Regions from separate parts of the Homo sapiens genome. Here region 2 is linked to region 1. The links are contacts of gene promoters, found by promoter capture Hi-C in human tissues and cell types (Jung and others, 2019). All regions are on one chromosome and are shown on one strand. Each heading gives the region's core, a stretch centred on a gene start or on the middle of the fragment in contact. The rest is flanking DNA. Distances are from core to core; before and after follow the strand shown.

The links. The method cuts DNA at HindIII sites, captures the fragments that hold promoters and counts their contacts. A contact is called where the count stands out against the background at its distance.
Region 2: a contact is called between a fragment that was not itself captured here and the fragment with the promoter of MAP1B in region 1, in 1 of the 25 tissues and cell types used here (bladder).

The regions. Positions count from the first base shown.
Region 1 is chr5:72,106,221-72,108,920 of GRCh38, reverse strand. It overlaps MAP1B (microtubule associated protein 1B), which reads right to left and starts at 1,446. Exons shown (of 7, transcript NM_005909.5): 1 at 1,206-1,446. The coding sequence starts at 1,389. LOC105379028 (a long non-coding RNA gene) reads left to right here. Exons shown (of 3, transcript XR_007058813.1): 1 at 1-146; 2 at 934-996. RefSeq lists enhancers at 1-139, 545-1,527. The HindIII fragment of the contact is 7,344 bases long and covers 1-2,700 here.
Region 2 is chr5:72,158,052-72,160,751 of GRCh38, reverse strand. The region is part of intron 2 of MAP1B (microtubule associated protein 1B); the gene reads right to left. Among named protein-coding and RNA genes, the nearest start is that of MIR4803, 10 kb to the left of the region's middle. RefSeq lists an enhancer at 2,143-2,642. The HindIII fragment of the contact is 3,214 bases long and covers 1-2,700 here.

The DNA of each region.
Region 1 (2,700 bases), core at 197-2,696:
AGAGCGCGGGCTGGGGCTGCGGAGGGACCCGGCGACCTCTGTCAGGAGCGAGGGGAGGGCCGGGACGCCAGGGATAAAGGGAAAGGCAGAGACCAGAGCTGCCCACCCAGGGACTCCCAGGGCAACAAAGCCAGGCAAACTGAGAGGTGGGGGCGCGCGGCCCCCGCCAGCCCGAGGCCCGGGCGGAGCGCAAGCCCAGCCAGCCGTGCCCGACGGGGGCGCCGCAGTGTGGGGGGGCAGGTGTGGCGGGCGGTCCGGAGGCACTGCGGCAGCTCGGGTGGGGCTGGGGGCGGTCTCTCTGTGCGCCCGAGGCTGTGCCCGCCGGACCCTCACGGCCCCGCCCAGGGTCCCCGGCGTACCGCTATTCGGCCTCCGCAGAGCGCGCCACTGGTGCGAGCACCGGGCGAGGAGCTGACCCTACCCGCTGACGTCTCCCTCACCGACCCCCTTCAAGCTACCACTCCCGAGGCTGGGACTTCTAAAAGCAGCAGCCCCACCCCGCAACTTGGGGTCCCATTGTCCTTTCTGAGAGCTGCAGCCAAGGCCCCAAGGGCGGTAGCGAGGCGGGCTCTGTCTGGTGGCGAAGCGCAGGCGGTTCTGCATCCCAGCATCTCCCCGGGGAGGGGGGGGCGGGGGGAGCGGGCGTGGCCCTAGGACTAGCCTAGTCATTCTGAGGAAAGAAAGGATCGGGAGGTTTGAAATCAGAAAAGGCGTTTCTCAGGGGCTGAGGTAGCCGTGGTGAGGATGAATCCCACGCGGGCCCTGGCACATGGGCTTCGGCCCCAGGTCTGCGGTGGTGGGGGTCCCAGCCTTTTCCTGAGGCCAGAAGAGGACTGAAAGGAGTGGTTGCATCAGGTCTCCCCCACCCTTCTGCCTCCTGCGGTTGCGGCTTTATTGTGGCCTCTGCTCCCCTGACACCTGCATTTCACTTAGCGGGAGAGGCGGTGGCCAACTCAGCACAGGCTGCGGACTCAGCGTGGTGACAGATCCCTCAAGGTTATTGGAGACTCTCCCTCTGGGTCTCATATCTAATAATTCGGATTATTCTTAATTAGCCCAGAAAGGGTCTGGACCAAGTATGAGAGGTGACGAGGAGAGGCATGGGTGCGGGGCGCGCGGGAGGAGCGCAGTGACCGTCGCGCCCTGGGTGGGGTCGTGTTTGCGCGTCTCCCAGCGCGCGTCTCTGGGGGCGCGGGGCCACTTACCGAGCTCGATGTTGCCGATGGCACGCCGCAGGTGCTCCTCGGTCACGATCTCGCCGACGACCACCAGCAAGTAGAACTTGCTGTCAAGGAAGCGGTGCGACAGGCTAGGCGAGGTGGACGCCGCCGGGTTGGCGATGCTGCCGGACGGCTCCGGCTCGGTGGCTTCCACCACCACGGTCGCCATCCTGCCGGCTGCTGTGCCTCGGCGAAGTGTCTCGCTCCGGCCGCTCCTCTCCACTGCGGCAGGAGAAAGGATTATCTCCGAAGGTACTGTCTCCGCTCCGCCCCCTGCGTCCCCCCTCCTCTGGCGCCGCGCGCCGCCTCCCCCTCCGCCCTCTCCCAGCGCCGCGGAGAGTGCGCGGCGGAGAGGAGCGGGGAGTGAGAGAGGGCGGGGAGGCGGCGCCGCTTTTATATGGAGACTAGGCAGGGAGCCGGGAGGAGGAGGAAGAGGAGGAGGAAAGGACCACCCGGCACATCCTCACGCGGTGGCTGCCTCCGCTCTTCCAGCCGTTGGCCCGGGGCTGATGTCATCTGCAGCAAATCATCTCGCCCGCGGCCCGGAAGCTGGAGGGACGAGGTGTGCGGACAATGGTCGGGGCAGGGCCGCGAGCCAAGGGGCTGGGGCGCCCGCTGAGCTCCTGCTGCAGCCGTGAAGGGGGAAGACGCTCTCAACCTACACCACCCACCACGTACACACCCACTGCCCACTCCTCACCCTCACCCTGTCTGTGCATGGGAATGGGATGAGTTTCCATTTTCGGAGTGGGGGTCTTTTCTCTTGTTGGAGTTGCACTAGTCAGGCCTCTGCCTTGTGTGCTGTGTATGATGTAGCCAGGTTCTCAGGAACTGGGATAGCCACAGTGGGCAGATGCGGGGCTGTGGGTACCCCGCCTAGGAAGACGGAACCTGTCTTTTCTTTGACCTTGTGGCTTTAAGAAGACGAATTTACTGATATTTACCAATATCAATATTTACCACCTTCACTTAAAGAATACATCAAAAATGCAAAACTTAAGCCTACTATTGTTCAGGCCTTGGATTCTACTCTGGCAGGGCCAAGGATGAAAAAGTACTGGCTTTGTGGTGCTCATGGGAAATGAGAGAAATGCAGATGTATTATATTAGATACCAATTTCTTTCCTTAATGTGCTGAACAGATAGTATCAGTAATAACAAAGAATAAAGAGAAGATACTGTCTCTACTCAGCAGGGTTACAGTGACTATAATGTACTTTTCAGTTCCTTGGGGAACACACAAGCAAAATTACCTCGTGACAATGATGTCTTTTAAAATACCTGTAGCATTGGGAATTTTTATTGCCTTTGTTTGTGTTTAGAAGAACTAAAAAATGTGTTTTTTGTTTTTGTTTTTTTGTTTTTTTTTTTAAGGCAGCCTATTTACAACCGTTTCTCACAAACATACTGAATATAGCTTCTGTCCCAGAAAAGGGGAGGAGGGTGAGGAAAGAGCAAAATGTGCAAACATGGTATCATA
Region 2 (2,700 bases), core at 83-2,582, 52 kb before region 1:
GGGAGCCCCACTGTTTGCCCTAGTCTCTACTTTCTGTAGATTAGGAGATTTCAAAGACTAATCAAAGATTAGTCTTCTTTGATGTTGCCTATATATCTGTCTCAAGGAATGGAACTAGCTCTGTTCATTCTTCAGTAGGCTTAAAATGATATACGGTAGAATAAAATGATGACATCATGAGGCTACTGACTTGATATAAACAGAAGACACCATGGAACAACCAACCACAGGAACATTCATGAACCCTCCCACCTAAAGGGACTGCAAAAAATAAGGCTCATTTCTAAACAATGTAATCAGCCAGGCTATTCCCAGCCTACACTCATTTCCTAGACAATAGTCACACAGTTGTTTAAATAACATCAGCTATTTCAAGCCTGGCAAAATAAATACAGGCTCACAGAAAAGTATAATTTGTAGTAAAAGACCTAATACCATTGCTCTTGATCAAAGATGTGATTCCTTTTTCAGAGTCTTTTCCAAAACGGAATGAATACAGAAAGTTTTTTTGGTTTGGATTTTTTTTTTTTTTTAAGTTTCCAACATACAGCTGAAAACTGCCCTTTATTCTCGGTCCCTGATCCATAATAACATCCTCCCTCCTACCTTCTGATTCCCATTTATGCTCAAAGTGAAAATGGAAATACAAAAAAAGGGGAAGAAGATAAAGGAATGGCTGAAACTTCTTCCCTTGCTCAGTTTGAAAACACATTTTTACCCTCCTCCATACAAACTAAAAGAGTCATCACATTTTAGCTCTACAAGACGCTGGAGGAAGACAAGGCATAGAGAAGGAGCTAGTTGGGTGTGATTCTGATGAAGCCCCCACTCTTTACCAGGTGAACGTATTATTTCGTGTGGCTGGAGGCTGCATGTACTCAACAACCATGAGTAAGGCCTGGATCTCACACTATTCTGTCATGGAAAGTCATTTCCTTTAAAACTGAACTCAGACTCAAATGTGAACTTGGTATGAAGCTCCTAGTTCCTGTAGGGCCTCTGAAATCTTCACTGAATTTTCACAAATGTTTCTTTATTTTCATCATTGAATGCCTTGAAGGCTGCCTGCCTCTAAAATCTATCAACGCCAATGTTTTATGGCCATTAAGAGATTCTAGAAGGCACTTCTTCCTCCAGGGCATAAGTTAAATCACTGGTATAATGGTGTTTATCAACAATACAACAGCAGATGGTCAACTTAAACAGATATTTGTACATACACAGCCAAGCTTGAAGATGGCCCAGTGTTTACTTGCTAGTCCACAGGAAGTAGGCATCTAGTGATATTTTTCATTATGTTAACATACACTATCTATCTGCCTTTTTAGTAGCTTCCAGACACCAGACATTTTTGCTCTCTTCAGAGAAATTCCAAAGAATCACCAAGGACTCCTAAGAAATAAGTCCAAATGTAGGGACAACAGAGTAGTAACATACTGTACTAATCTAAACACTCTTCTTCAAAGAAAGATCACCTTTCTACAGTTTTTTTTCAGTACCCTTCTGTGAGTTCCAAAAGCAGCCTTTTTACAATCTTTCATCTAGGACTGTTTTTTTTCTTCCAGTCTTGATTGCACAAGGTTCCTTCTCTTCTAGAGGCTCTGAAAGAGGCTTTGGAGACTGGCAAACATAAGTTCAAATCCCAGCCCTACAACTTGCTAACTATGACCTTGGGCTGATTATTTAATCTCTCTGACCCTCAGGTTCCTCAATCGTACATGGGAATAACAGTACTCACACCCCATATGGCTGTTGTGAGGATTAAGTGAGGTCTTACAGGTAAGAAGCCTGGCATGTGGATACTCAAGAAATGGGTGTTGCTATAATCACTAGTGATTAGGCCATGTTGCCCAAATCTCTAACTTTCTGCATAAGTGAACCCTTTCAACATCAAATTATATGCATTTACATAAAACCTCTCTGGGCCCAGATTCTTGTCTCTAGTTATGCTCCATTCAAATGTCTTCTGCCCATGAGCACTTATACCCAAACTGCCTCACCACATACGAGTCTTAGAACAATAAGGGCACCAGCTTTTTATTACATCAATCCTACCTGTCGCCTTCCATATTCATTTCCACTGAGCCCAGGATTTGGGTCTCATTAGGAAATCACCAAAATTTCAAGTTGTCATTACTTTACCAATCAATACATCAGTGGTCCTCTCCAAATTAGTCATACTCAAATCACATAATTCAAACACCATTGAAAACTTCCTTCCCCTTCAACCATAGGGCAGCTCCCTTGTGCTGTGTTTAAAGGAATCCATTCACATTTTCCCAAACACCTCTCCTCTTTCTTTTCTCCAACTGCTTTAATCACCTAAATCGTTGTATGAAGTGAGACAAGATTTAAGGTTCATTTAGGTTTGCATCGTTTAGAGTTTCCCACTATCTCTTACTAATACATCAGATTACAAGGGCTATCATAAGAATCGGGGGATAGGCCAGGCACGGTGGCTTATGCCTATAATCCCAGCACTTTGGGAGGCTGAGGTGAGCGGATCACAAGGTCAGGATTTCGAGACCACCCTGGACAATATAGTGAAACCCCATCTCTACTAAAAATACAAAAAATTAGCCGGGCGAGGTGGCAGGCACCTGAAGTCCCAGCTACTCGGGAGGCTGAGGCAGGAGAATGGCGTGAACCCCGGGGGGCGGAGCCTGCAGTGAGCTGAGATCGTGCCACTGCACTCCAGCC